Regions from separate parts of the Homo sapiens genome. Here regions 1, 2, 3 and 5 are each linked to region 4. Evidence: promoter capture Hi-C in 16 types of primary human blood cells and fetal thymus (Javierre and others, 2016). All regions are on one chromosome and are shown on one strand. Each heading gives the region's core, a stretch centred on a gene start or on the middle of the fragment in contact. The rest is flanking DNA. Distances are from core to core; before and after follow the strand shown.

What was found. Contacts are between HindIII fragments. The CHiCAGO score rates a contact against its expected background, and 5 or more counts as called.
Region 1: a contact is called between the fragment with the promoter of NCOA2 here and the fragment with the promoter of MSC in region 4, in 2 of 17 cell types (M0 macrophages and M2 macrophages). The highest score is 9.0, in M0 macrophages.
Region 2: a fragment that was not itself captured here is called in contact with the fragment with the promoter of MSC in region 4 in 1 of 17 cell types (endothelial precursors); the score reaches 5.2 in endothelial precursors.
Region 3: a contact is called between a fragment that was not itself captured here and the fragment with the promoter of MSC in region 4, in 1 of 17 cell types (M2 macrophages). The highest score is 7.2, in M2 macrophages.
Region 5: a contact is called between a fragment that was not itself captured here and the fragment with the promoter of MSC in region 4, in 1 of 17 cell types (M0 macrophages). The highest score is 5.7, in M0 macrophages.

Annotation. Positions count from the first base shown.
Region 1 is chr8:70,402,555-70,405,254 of GRCh38, reverse strand. NCOA2 (nuclear receptor coactivator 2) reads left to right here and starts at 1,447. Exons shown (of 23, transcript NM_006540.4): 1 at 1,447-1,555. RefSeq lists silencers at 671-830, 1,521-1,830, 1,871-2,160, 2,191-2,700 and an enhancer at 931-1,050. The HindIII fragment of the contact is 4,231 bases long and covers 155-2,700 here.
Region 2 is chr8:70,743,469-70,746,168 of GRCh38, reverse strand. It overlaps a transcript of XKR9 not described here. Among named protein-coding and RNA genes, the nearest start is that of XKR9, 75 kb to the right of the region's middle. The HindIII fragment of the contact is 849 bases long and covers 963-1,811 here.
Region 3 is chr8:70,610,321-70,613,020 of GRCh38, reverse strand. The region is part of intron 1 of LACTB2-AS1 (LACTB2 antisense RNA 1); the gene reads right to left. Among named protein-coding and RNA genes, the nearest start is that of LACTB2-AS1, 3.1 kb to the right of the region's middle. The HindIII fragment of the contact is 2,495 bases long and covers 12-2,506 here.
Region 4 is chr8:71,843,001-71,845,700 of GRCh38, reverse strand. It overlaps MSC (musculin), which reads left to right and starts at 1,289. Exons shown (of 2, transcript NM_005098.4): 1 at 1,289-2,056. The coding sequence starts at 1,523. MSC-AS1 (MSC antisense RNA 1) reads right to left here and starts at 2,578. Exons shown (of 5, transcript NR_033652.1): 1 at 1,997-2,578; 2 at 1,279-1,472. RefSeq lists a silencer at 1,671-1,940. The HindIII fragment of the contact is 4,753 bases long and covers 425-2,700 here.
Region 5 is chr8:70,662,982-70,665,681 of GRCh38, reverse strand. All of the region lies in intron 1 of LACTB2 (lactamase beta 2), which reads left to right. LACTB2-AS1 (LACTB2 antisense RNA 1) reads right to left here. Exons shown (of 4, transcript NR_038881.1): 4 at 2,403-2,700. Among named protein-coding and RNA genes, the nearest start is that of LACTB2, 4.9 kb to the left of the region's middle. The HindIII fragment of the contact is 777 bases long and covers 1,004-1,780 here.

The DNA of each region.
Region 1 (2,700 bases), core at 198-2,697, 1.4 Mb after region 4:
ATTTTTTTTATTCTTTTCCCAAATAAAATTGGCGGTACACCCACAAATTTTAGGATGAAGACATGTTTAAAAGCATGGGCTTTGGAGCTCACCAGAACTGGGCTCACATCCTCTCCAACTACTGGCTGTGACCCTGGGCAAATTACTTTAAGCTTCAATTTTTTGTGTGAAGTGAAAAGCGGCAATGACTTCGGAAGGTTTGAGGATTAAGGCCTATAGCATATATACATCACCTAGCACAGTCAGATTCACAGTAAGTGTTCAATAAACACTCTTATTGTCTACCGCAAGTGACCTTTCTCATTATAAGATTAAAATCAGGGAATATGTTCCTCTCATAGTTTGATAACTGCCATTAAACAAAAGTTTTTTTTTTCAACTAATTACCGTATAAGTTGGAAAAAAAACTTGCTTTTCCAAAGCGTAAAACAGATTGGTCTAAGTAACACTTAAATGGGGGTTCTCGCATTTTCAGTGCCAATCTCCTACGTCCCCTCAGTACTTTGTTCACGGATGTCTAGAGAATGGACTTTCCAATACAAACTTATGATTTCATGATGTGCCGAAAATTCTCAACCAGGTTAAGTTTCACACTCTGTGTGCAGCATTTGCTTTATCCCGCAATTGCCGGGTGGTGCCCCTTCCAGCTCCCACAGTCGCGCCTCTCCATCCCCTCTGGAGCTAGGACTGCAATGGGAGAAGCCTCTCCCTGTTGGAGCCGTAGGGGACTTGACGGATGCGGGGCGCCTCCGGGGAGCAGCGGCAGGACCGGGAGTTGGGTAGGGTGAGGTGCGCCCGAGGGGGTGCAGGGTGCTGGCCGAAGGGTCCGGCCGGACGGGCGCGAGGGTCCTCTGCTGGCGACCCTGGAACTCGGCTCTCCCCGATCTTCGTCCTGGGGCACCGTCCCTGCCGTCTGCAGCCCCCAGGCCCCACTGCCTCTAACTCAGCGGCCCAGGCCCGTCCCAGTCGCTAGTTTTCTTTTTGGCATTGCCCTTTGCCCTCCCATGCAGTCCTCTGTTGACTCTCTCTTCAGTTCCAGTCACCTCTAGGTCACCCTCCCTCTACCACAGTCACCCATTTTGTCCCCTGTCCCCTTACTCTTCTTCACCTCTCCCCGGGCCGCCTTCTCAGAGGACTCTGCCGACGGAGATGCTGCGGACCCCGCGGCCAGGGGCTGCTCCCCGGACAACCCTGCGTCCACCTTTGCCCCTTCCTCGGGGGCGCGAGAGGCAAGTTTCCGCCCCGTCCTTTTCCCGGTGACAGGACTTGGCGGCGGCCACTGCCGGGGAGGCAGAGGGAGGGACGGCCTGGCTCCCGAGCCCCCTCCCCTGCTCGCGAGCTCGCGCTGTCTGTCTCTCCGCAAGTGCGGAGACGCGGAGGAGGAGGAGGAGGAGGAGGAGGAGGAGGGAGTTGGGGGAGGATCTCCATTGAAATAAACAACCAGGCAGCAGTTATTAACACGGGAACATGGCGGCCGCAGCCTCGGCTACAGCTTCGGCGGCGAAGGTCAGCGCCGACGGCAGCCGGCACCTGACGGCGTGACCGACCCGAGCCGGTAACCGCGCCTTCCCCCGGGGCCGCGAGGGCGGGCGGGGGGCGGGCGGCAGGCGGGGGGCGCCGCGTCCCCACCCCCGGCCGCGACTGCCCTTCCTGCGCCGAGCTCCGACAGAGCCGTGCGCCTCCGAGAGGCTGTTTTTGTGTGCGGGGACCGCCGCCGGAGTGCGCGGAAAACGGGAGTTGCATCCCGGAGGCGCAGCGACGCTGGGGAGTTGGGGCTTGGGGGTGGGGAGGGCGGGAAGCGACGGGGAGACGCGGAGTCCCCGGGAGAGAAAGGAGGCGCTCCAGCGCCTTGCGAGAGCTCAGGAGACGAGTCCCGGAGCGCGAGGCGGGCGGAGGCTGCAGCCCGCGGCGCGGGCGAGAGGTGAGCGCCGAGGCGCGGCCGGGGGTGCGGGCGCGGCCCCCGCCCCGAGGAGCGAGTGCCCATTGCCCAGCCCGGTGCGGGGTCGGCGGAGACCGAGGCTCTAACCCCTCGGGGGCAGCGCGGCAGAGCCGAGAAGGTGAATCCTGGGAAGGTGCATTCTTTAATGGAAGCGCGGAGCGGCTGCAGCGGAGAGTGGGAGCCGGGCGAGGGGAGGCAGGACTCGGGAAGTGCTGGGGGTGTGTGAAGGTGAAGCGGGGTGTCGGGGCGGCCGGCGAGCTGCAGCGCGGGGCGGGGAAGGGGAGCCGCGGCCCGGCGGGTGGCCCGGGCCCGTGTCAGCCCCGGGGGTGGGGGGCGAGGGGCGCCGAGCACCGCGGGCGGACGGGAAGGAGCTGCGGCGGGCGGGGCGGGCGGCGCGCTGGGGCCGAGCAGGCCGGGCCGTGGTGGGGGCGGGGAGCCGGGGGCCGGGCCCCGGCGGCGCCGAGCCGGGCTCGCCCCTGACTGAACTTTCTGGGTGCGGGCGTGTATGCAGGAGGCGCGCTGGGGCCGGGGCCGGGGGCGGGAGGCGGACCGGGAGGTTCCGGGTTGGCTCGCCAGCGCCCCCTTTTCTCGCCCCCTTCTCTCCGCCCCTGAAGGGACAGGCCCTCGGGGCCCCAGGCGGGAAGCGGGAGGGGCCCTGTGGCCGCCTCGCGACGGTCACGCCCCGGGCACGGGGACCCGGCCCTCTCGGGCCCCTGGGGGGTGCTGGGGGAGGGGGCCGGGGTCGTCGCTGCCGGCTGCGC
Region 2 (2,700 bases), core at 138-2,637, 1.1 Mb after region 4:
AATTATATATTTATTATATGCTGTTTAACATTTTAAAAAAGTACTTAAGTCCCACTTTCACAAAATAAAAGGCACAAATCTTAAAATGAAGGATACCATTTAACTACATAATCATCTCTGTAACAAACTAGATCTAATATCAAAATATAGCCTCTTTGGGAAACGACAAATGGTTCATGTTAACCCCAAAGACATGTATATGTGCAAATGCTCAGCTAGAAAAGTCCAACTTTGAATTTATTGTAATCATTAAGTGGGGCATCAGCCAGAGTTAGAGATGCATTATATATCTCTGACCCCCACAATCACAAGGACAAGATTTACAATTGGAAATGAGCATCAAGATATTGTGCAAGAAATTAATGTTTGGCTTTGGTGTTCTCCTGGCTTGTAGCAATACATAGTTGATCCCATAAACCAGGGAACAAATTAGGCAGCACGTCCAATTTCTCTGTGGTTCCATTGCCCTCTAGTGGCTGTTTTGAAACTAATTATTAACTGATAGCCTTCAAAAGTCAACGGGGATTCTCAAAGAAGGGAGGGGAGAACAGCAGCATCAGCAACATCCGGGAACTTTTTTAAACACGCAAATTTCAAGCCCTACCTAATGCCTACTAAAAAGAAACTCAGGATAGGGGCCAGCAATGTGTTTCAATAAGCACTCCAGGAGATTCTGATGCACACTAAAGGTTGAGAACCACTAGTCTATGAGGAGAGTATTCATATTTGAAGATGTGAATGTATATAGGTGCATATGAGTGTTCTTTTATGAAAGTATTGCTCATAATTATTTTTCTTTTTTAAATTTCAAAAGGCCTTTTATATACACATAATAATCTAGAAAAAGCCCAAAATTTAGTTGCGGAAATTTAAAAGTCTTATAAAGCCATGACTGAACCATATAGAACATGAGGATAAAATTAATTAAGTTCATTCTATATTAAAAGTTCATTTTAAAAGCTTACTATTTAGCCAAAACATCTGACCAGGATCTTCCCATTTATTTCTTGGCTATAAAACCAATAAGAAAATGTTTGTTGGATGGAATGAATACTTAATCTATGTTTGTGTGGGACACTTAGCATTCAAGCTCCTTAGTAGATGTATAATATATTATTTCCTACCCTTTTTCCCATTACATATATTGTTAATTGGATTATTCAAGCTAACAGTGACACAAGTCCAGCTCTACCTTGAGCTAAAGCTGAAAAACATTTAGGCTAGACTTTTTAAAAAACTATATCATAGGCAAATAAATCATTCAGGCTGGCATGGTAACTCATGCCTGTAATCCCAGCACTTTGGGAGGCCGAGGCAGGTAGATCACTTGAGGCCAAGAGTTTAAGACCAGCCTGGCCAACATGGCAAAACCCAATCTCTACCAAAAATACAAAAATTAGCCAGGCGTGGTGGTGCACACCTGTAGTCCCAGCTACCTGAGTGGCTGAGGCACAAGAATCACGCGAACCCAGGAGGTGGAGGTTGTGGTGAGCCACGATCGCACCACTGCACTCCAGCCTGGGTGACAGAGCAAGACTCTATCACAAAAATAATAATTTTTAAATAATGCATAACTTAGCATAGCTGTAGGTAACCTATTCATCAGATAAAGATAGCATGGTTTCACAAAAAATGAACTGGATTTGAGGTGAAAAAGCCTGAGATTGGATCTGTGTGGACTTTGGCAAATTACTTAAACTCTATGAGCCTTGGTTCTCCCAGTTAAAGGGTAGTGATGATAATAATATCTATATTGCAGTTTTTATCAGGGTCATAAGTAGGGATGAGAGAGAACTAAATGTTAAAAAGCTTTACACATCTTGTCTAAGTAAATATTACAGAAAGATTTTTTTTTTTTGAGGCGAAGTCTCGCTCTGTCACCCAGGCTGCAGTGCAATGGCATGATCTCGGCTCACTGCAGCTTCTGCCTCCCCAGTTCGAGTGATTCTCCTTCCTCAGCCTCCCAAGTAGCTGGGATTAGAGGCGCCTGCTACCACACCTAGCTAATTTTTGTATTTTTAGTAGAGATGGGGTTTCATCATGTTGACCAGAGTGGTCTTGAACTCCTGACGTCAGGTAATGCACCCGCCTCAGCCTCCCAAAGTGCTGGCAGAAAGACTGGCAAACATTACAGAAAGATTACTGAAAATGTTATAGATTAATAAGAAGGTGGGTATATCTCTTACTGCACAAATCGTCTCACAAATAACCACTATGAACTCTGGACAAAACACTGGTAATTACCTCAAAGCACTTCACAGCAAAAAAAAGCAAGCAGACACTGGAGAGAGGTCGACATCTGGAAGAAGGAATGGCACTGAGTGAGAGCAGACCCCACTCAGCATACCAACTACACAAAATCCAAATTTAAAAACCTACAGTTTTAGTGGTTTTAAGGCCCAGAGAACAGAGTATGTGGTGATCACAACTGCTGAAAAATGAGGTGGAAAATCTAGGAGAAAAATAGAACCAACAGAAAGGAAGTCTCACTTCATATATTAATTCTGCCCAATTTTAGGCTGACCGTGAACTATGCATATAAGGGGAAGACTCGATGCAGCTCACTGAAGGTTAAATAAAGATTGTTTAGAGTTCAGAGTTTAAAGTTCAAGTTACTGCCTGCTGAAAAGAAAAAAAAATGTTTCTCTGAAGAACAAAAATAATCAAGAGGATCTAAAATGTATCATTCATACCATCCAG
Region 3 (2,700 bases), core at 10-2,509, 1.2 Mb after region 4:
AGCCTGAAGCTTTTCCCTGTTAACTCCCCTCCCCTTTAATTTTCACAAATGTTATTGCCAATAAGTCTCTTATGCTTCTAACTCCTTCTTGGCATCTATTTCCTGGACAACCCAAACTAACATAACCACACAACCTCCATCTTACCAAACCCAGTGGTCACTAGGCGCAATGGCTCACACCTGTAATCCCAGCACTTTGGGAGCCTAAGGCGAGTGGATCACAAGGTCAGGAGTTCGAGACCAGCCTGACCAACATGGTGAAACCCCATCTCTACTAAAATACAAAAATTAGCCAGGCCTGGTGGCACGTGCCTGTAATCCCAGCTACTCAGGAGGTTGAGGCAGGAGAATCACTTGAACCTGGGAGGCAGAGGTTGCAGTGAGCTGAGATCGTGCCACTGCACTCCAGCCTGGGCAACAGAGCGAGATTCCATCTCAAAAACAAACAAACAAACAACAACAACAAAAACCCAATGGTCATCTCAAGTCCTATGGCTGGCCAGAGTATGATATGTTTAAGCAGCTGAAAGAAGACCAATGTGGTCTTCTCACAAAGGAGTGAAAAATCACCAGATTCTAAGGTTTGAAAGGACCAATTTCAGTTTAAAAACTGACATTAGTAGAGCAATTCATTTCCAAATGACCTAGAACACTTCTACTGCACCTTGCACTGTCTCTTTGTAAATATCCATCACATTGGTCATTGTTTACTGTCTGTCTTCTATTCCAGGTATGCGTTTCAAGAACAAAGACTAAATCTGTCTTGTTAATAATTATATCCTACAACTCAGGACTTGCTTGGTGCATTGCAAGTCTTCTTTAAATATATTTAAAATGAGTAACTTTGTAGAGCCATATATCATTTTTATGTTTGTTTCTTGGTTAAACTATCTTAAGGTTTTATTCTCATTTATGTGAGGTATTTTTTCTTTTCATTCCCTCAATAAATAATGACCACTAAATATTTGACAGTATAGCACCAGGTAGTAGGAGCTGGAAAAATGAAACAACTCCCAGTTCCTGAGGAGTACCAGTCTAGTGGGAAGACAGACTTGCAAACAATAGAAGATAGTATGATTATTGCTAAAATGAAATTATGTACAAAATACAAGTGAGTCCTCATAGACCCAAGTGTAAGAGCTAAAACCATAAAACTCTTAGAAGAAAACACAGGAGTAAATCTTTGGAATCTTGGGTTAGGCACTGATTTCTTATATAGGACAACAATAGCAAGTGATTAAAGAGAAAACAGGTAAGTTGGACTTTGCTGAATTAAAAACTTTTGTGCTTCAAAGAAAACCATCAAGAAAGTAAAAAGACAGACTGAAAGAAAATATTTTCAAATCATATATCTGCTAAGATCTAGAATCTATCTTTTATTTTTTAAAATAAATTACAGAACAACATGGACATATAGAATAGATATTTTTAAACCCTTACAACTCAATAAACTTTAAAAAATTAATCCAACTTAGAAATGATAAAGGATTTGAATAGACATTTCTACAAAAAAAGATATACAGATGGCTTCTGAGCACCTGATAAGGCTAGTAGTCAATATCATTAGTGCTCAGGGAAATGCAAAGCAAAATCACAATGAGATATTACTTCACACCCACTAGGACAGATAAGATTAAAAGACAGAAAATAAAAGTATTGGCAAGGATGGGAAGAAATTGGAACCTCTACACATTGCTAATAGGATGGGAAATAGTGCATTCACTTTGGAAATTAGTGTGAGAGTTCCTCAAAACGTCAAACATAAAGTTGCCTTATGATCAGCAATTCCACTGCTAGGTATATACCCAAAGGAATTGAGTTCAAACAAAAACTTGTACACAAATGTTCATCAACTGATGAATAAGATGTGCTATAGCCATACAATGGAATATTATTTGGCCATAAAAAGGAGTGAAGTACTGATACATGTTACAACATCGATGAACCTTGGAAACATTATCTTCAGTGAAAGAAGTCAGTCACAAAAGATCATGATTCTATTTACATGTAATGTCCAAGCTGGCCATGGTGGTTCACACCTGTAATCCCAGCACTTTGGGAGGTGGGAGAATTTCTTGAGGCCAGGAGTCCAAGGTTGCAGTGAGCTATGATCATGCCACTGTACACCAGCCTAGGCAACAGAGCAAGACCCCATCTCAAAAAAAGAAAGAAAAGAAACAAAGAAAGAACAAAAAGAAATGTCCACAATAAGCAAATATAGAGAGGTAGAAAATAGGTCAGTTGTTGCCAAGGGCTGCCAAGACTATGAGGGGAAATGGAGAGTTACTGGTAATGTGTATAAGGTTTCTTTTAGAGATTACAAGAATGTTCTAAAGTTATATTATGGTGATTGTTGCACAACTTTGCAAACATACTAAAAACCACAGAATTGAATATCTCAAATAGCTGAACTATATGACATAAATTATACTGCAATAAAACTATTTCAAAAATGCAATTGAATCATAAAAGATAAATTGCTTAGGTCACAGAATTCAGTGAAGCTTTCGAAGAGGTCATGTGTAAATGAGACATGAAGGAACAGCAGGAGCCTGCTGTGTCTATGAAAGGACAGGAGAAAACATTCCAGACAGAGACAGCAGTACACGCAAAGGCAGGGGAGAGCATGGGAAGAGAGCATGTCATGGCATGTACAGTCGTCCCTCAGTCTTCACAGGGGACTGGTTCCAGGGCCCCCGC
Region 4 (2,700 bases), core at 40-2,539:
GCCTGTGTGACGACTCAGTTTCATCATTGTAAAATGGGGTAACCATATGCCAAACTCATACGGGTTTTATTACTCAGTGAGCTGCTCACAAGCCGCGAGTACAGTGACGGGCACACAGCGGGCACTCAGTCTCTGACCACTGGGGCCCGTATCCACAGACGTACTTATCCCCTGACCAGGAACTGCGATGACCTTCGAGTTAGGAAATAATGAGACTGCAAAATTGTTGTGTTTTCTTGTGTGGAAGAGCAGGATGTTTTAGTCTTGTTTGGAATGGAACATGATCATTCAGGGTGCTCCTTTGTCGTTTTTACTTTGAATGGACGATTGTGCTAACTTAGCATTCTGCTTCCAGGAGCTCGCTCTTCAATACACAATCTATTAAATACAATAGCAAGGATTCCCTACATTATAATGCAAAGCTTTAGGGCCGGATCCTCCAACACACGCATTGTGGTATTAAAACAAAATCACATCACGCATGGAACTCTCAAGATAGTGGAAAATACCAGCTACAACATCCAGTGATGTGTGACCCGGAGGCACGGAGCTGACTAGAATACCGACGGGCCAGAATTTCAAAACGCGGATTTTGAATCTTTTTTTCTACTTAGCCTAATAAGTTTGGGTCTTTTACTTAACGTCTATCTAGGCGGCTCAGCTTCAAGTTCTGCAAATTGGAGATAATATCATTAAGTTACAGATGTTATTTGAAAAGGCAACGAACCATTGTAACCATTTTTGTAAACCATGAAGGTATATTATAAGAAAAGGAGGAGGAAAATGAGAGGTAACTTGTGCATTGTTGGATGTTGTTTGCCTGTTCTGCTTTTTCTCTTGTCCAGCAAGGCTTGGGTAGACAATCATACATCATGAATGGTTAACTTGAAAACTGAGTTCTACTGGAAAGACTGGCAGGCAAGCAGAGGTCGGAATCCCGTCGTTTCTAAGTGTCTGGTAATCTTTGCCACTGCTAAGATTACCTGGGGGTAGAAGCACCGTCGGTAGGAACAAGATGTGCCCCTTCACTCCCCGAAAGCTCACTTATCCTGCGCAGACATGTTGAAGGGCCGTCGGGCTTCAGAGCCCAAATCTCGGCTCTGCAGAGACGTCCCCTTCCCCCGCCTCCACCAACCGCTCTTCGGCATGCAGAAAAGCGGTCCCCACCCCTTCCACGCCCCTGCCCCACCTCTTGGCCCCCTTTACAACCCCCTCTTCTTTGCCCGGGGTGGTTTGTTCCAAGGAGTACAGATAGCCTTTTCAAAAGGCGCAGCTTACCGCGGTGCGCGCGGATTCTGGACTTGGGCGCCAACTCGTAGTCCACGCTCCCCGGGGTCAGCAGAGGGGCGCTCACGCTCTCGCCACCCACCTCGCTTTCTCACCCCGCGCTTCCCGGCCTGGGTTTTTAGTCTTCCTTGGAGCGCTCTCTGGCCTCCGCCTCCGCCAGGGAGCGGAAGGCGGAGACAGCGAGACTGGCCAGGGGGGAGGAAAGAGGACGCGTGTGGGCAAGGGGGACAACGGGATGTCCACGGGCTCGGTGAGTGATCCGGAGGAGATGGAGCTTCGGGGGCTGCAGCGGGAGTACCCGGTCCCCGCCTCCAAGAGGCCGCCCCTCCGCGGCGTAGAGCGCAGCTACGCCTCGCCCAGTGACAACTCGTCGGCAGAGGAGGAGGACCCCGACGGCGAGGAGGAGCGCTGCGCTCTGGGCACAGCCGGCAGCGCGGAAGGCTGCAAGAGGAAGCGGCCCCGTGTGGCTGGGGGCGGCGGCGCAGGTGGTAGCGCGGGCGGTGGTGGCAAGAAGCCCCTCCCGGCCAAGGGCTCAGCCGCAGAGTGCAAGCAGTCGCAGCGGAACGCGGCCAACGCCCGTGAGCGTGCCCGGATGCGCGTGCTGAGCAAAGCCTTCTCCAGGCTCAAGACCAGCCTGCCCTGGGTGCCCCCCGACACTAAGCTCTCCAAGCTGGACACGCTCCGGCTGGCTTCCAGTTACATCGCTCACCTGCGGCAGCTGTTGCAGGAGGACCGCTATGAGAACGGCTACGTGCACCCAGTGAACCTGGTAGGGGCGCGGCGCGCAAGGATTCGGGAGAGCAGCCAGGAGATACCCAGGGCGCTCCTGGGCGCCGGGCAGGGTCAGCCCGTTGGGAAGAATTCGAAAGGGGTGGAGGTTCTGGGACTGGGAACGAGAAGGCCAGTTTAGTTTCTCCCAAATCAAGGGAGTGGCCAGCCATTTCCCTGAAGAAGAATCAACCCTCCGTGTCTGTTTGCATCGTTCTGAACATTGTACCCCAGTGACAGCCATTGACTAATATCCTACTTCCAGGGTAAATCTTGGTTCCATCTCCATCTGCCACCAGGTTGCAGACTGACGGCAAATCTCCCTTGCCCAACTTAATCCAGCTGAGTCGGGCAGGTTTGAATCGGCAAGCCCTTTCTTAAAGGAGGGAAGGCCGAGCTCTATAAAAGAGCATTTGCATTTTTAGAAAAATTGCTTGTGGAAGATAGTAACGTTTCCCCAGATGGGATTTATCTGGAAAGTCCCTCTCTGATCTGCCAGCTCTCCCGGCTTGGGAAAAATCCTGTCCAAGCCCAGTTCCTACTTGGAGCTTGGAGTGGATGACTGTGTGTGTGTGTGTGTGTGTGTGTGTGTGTGCGTGTGTGTGTGTGTGTGTTGGGGAAGGGAACTAAACGACAGAACCTCAA
Region 5 (2,700 bases), core at 143-2,642, 1.2 Mb after region 4:
ACCCAATGAAGGTTGTGTAGTACCTACCTCATTGGATTTTATAAGGGCTCAGTGAAATTTAAGTGAAAAAACGTATATGAAAAGCACTTAACAAGTTCTAGCACGTGGAAAACATACCATGTTAGCCATTATGTTTATCACTTCTGCTTTCCTCATAACATCTAGATAACACTGTGCTCATAGTAGGTGTTCAGAAAATATCTAATGATTTTATAAGAGTGACAGCAAATAGAGACCAGTTAATAGCTATCTTAATATTGACATGAAATACCTATAACAAGGAATTTGATTCTACTAATTTTCCATCAATTAAAAATTTTTTTCTCCATTCATGTAGCAAACAGTTATTGTGTGCCTACTATGTGCCAGGCACTTTGCTCTAGTGAATAAATCGTTCATAGACCTATACAGATTCATCCATACTCTTCCCTTGAGCCCTTCATTAGCATAATTTGCATTTGCAAAATGACCTCCTGAGATAGGGATATTATTATCTGTGGCCAAGAAGAACAAAGTCAACTAGCCCATGTAGAGATGATACTATCCAATCATCTATTATAACTATTTACAGACATCACTGATAGAGTAACTGTTTGCTAAGGGAGAAACTGATAACATTTTTTTCAATTTCAAAACTGATAACAGTTTTTTCAAATGTATAGCTGAAGTTTTATTTTTGCCACATAATGATTCTAAGCACTTAACCTAAGCAATCCCCTTCTGCTAGAGAGGCAGTGTTTTGAATGGAGAAGTCACTGGACCTTGTATCTGAACATCTAGTGCTTCCTAGCACTGCCTCTTGCTGGTTATATGACCTGGAGCAAATCACTTAGCCTTTCTGAAGATAAGTTTTCTATAAAATAAATAATTAATAAAGTAATAATACCTCCCTAGAGTTGATATGAGGATCAAAAGAAATAGTAAATATGAAAGCCCCAAATGGTTTAAATTGCTATGTCAATGTCATATGTTATCAGTGTGACTTTTTTTTTCCCTCAAAGCTTGGTGCAAACTCATGTTTTAGGTTTTATAGTATCTAGACACCCCTCCTTTGTTCTGAATAGATTGTATTAATTCCAGAACTTTTTTCTGTTTTCTTTCTTTTGAGAGCCCTTCTTTTATCAATTCCAATTTTGTTAAACCAAGACAGGACCATTAAGAGACCTAAAACTGGAGCCCCAGAAACATGTTCTCCACTACCACAGTCGTATGGTCACTCACACTTTCACCTGCAAACAACCAGCACAGGCATTCTAAAAGATCTGTTTTCTTTGCTACTAGATTTTATCAAATTCATGTATCAACCCTGTTAATTTTGTCATGACTTTTGATCAGTGTGATGTGATCTGGTCATTAAATTACAGAAATTTATATTCATTTTTAGATTAGGAGATATTTCAAAACAGAGTTTCTTGGGAGGACGGGAAGGCAAGGATTAAGAAATAATTTTAAAAGTGGTGGGGCCTTGATGGATTGAAAAAATTTGAGCCTTACCTGAAGCATGGAAGTATTCTTTTTGTGAGGACCAGAAGACCCACAAAAATAGTCCCAGTGACTCTACGTTAGGGGCAGTGAGAATTTGTGGTAAATAACTGCAAATGCATGGAGGCAGCCAAAATCTAGGATGGGTGGGCTAGAGAGTATTATTGGAGGTATCATAGTATTATAGTCTTGTGTATTTTAATTTAGCATAACTAAATATGCACAATGCTAAGTGCAGTACAATGTATTATGGATATAGAAATAAATCCATAAATTCCTTGAACCAAACAGACAAGCTTTCTGCCCTGAAGGGACTCAAATTTGTACGGTGGTGTTGGTTGTGGAAATAGGCAATAAAAAAATAAATATGTAAATACATAATATATTACATGGTAATAATTGCTATGGAAAAAAAGCAAGATAAGATGGCTAGGAATAGCATCAGAACTCACTCTGACCCGAGTCAAACTCATCTCAAATTTGCTCCCTCCAGGGTTTACCTTCTTGATTAATGGCACACCAATCCTCCCACCTAGAAACCTCAGAGTCGCCAACTGTTTCCCTCCTTCCACATCTCGTTGTTTAACAAATATCCTGGTGGTTGGTTGATTGTACCTTCTAAATGTTCTTAAAGCCATCTCTTCCTTACATTTCCACTACCAACAGAACCCTATAATAAATGCCCTCTTGGTCCAGTGTAACCATCTGGTCTCCTGTCTCCGGATAGGACAGTTCAACACTGTGTTTCTGAAGGACATCTACTGTGCTACAGAACATAGGGTGCAGATAGAAGCCAATGGGCTATGAGGCCATTACCCTCCTCCCTTATGAGAGGCCAGTTTGTTTTTGTTGGCTCTGGGTCTCAGGGAGTAGGGTTAGGGAAACAAACCAATAAAAAATAACCATCCAGTTACTCACTGTTTAATTTTAATGCTTTGCAAAATGCTTTCTATGGTATGTTACTTTTATTGTTTATTTCCAGTCATATGCAGTTCCCCTTCTCACCAACAGTTGAATGTAAGCAGGGTTGTTGTGTCCTGCTTACTGCAAGAAACAAATTTGTAGCACATATTAGGTAATCCATAAACAGTTATTGATCAATTAATGAATAACTCAGACTTTTCATCAAGGCTAATCTGTCAGCCAGCCTGAATTATTGAGGTGTTACTGTGAAACAGTATGAGTGAAGAAGTTTGTGAATTGGATCTTGAGCTGGGC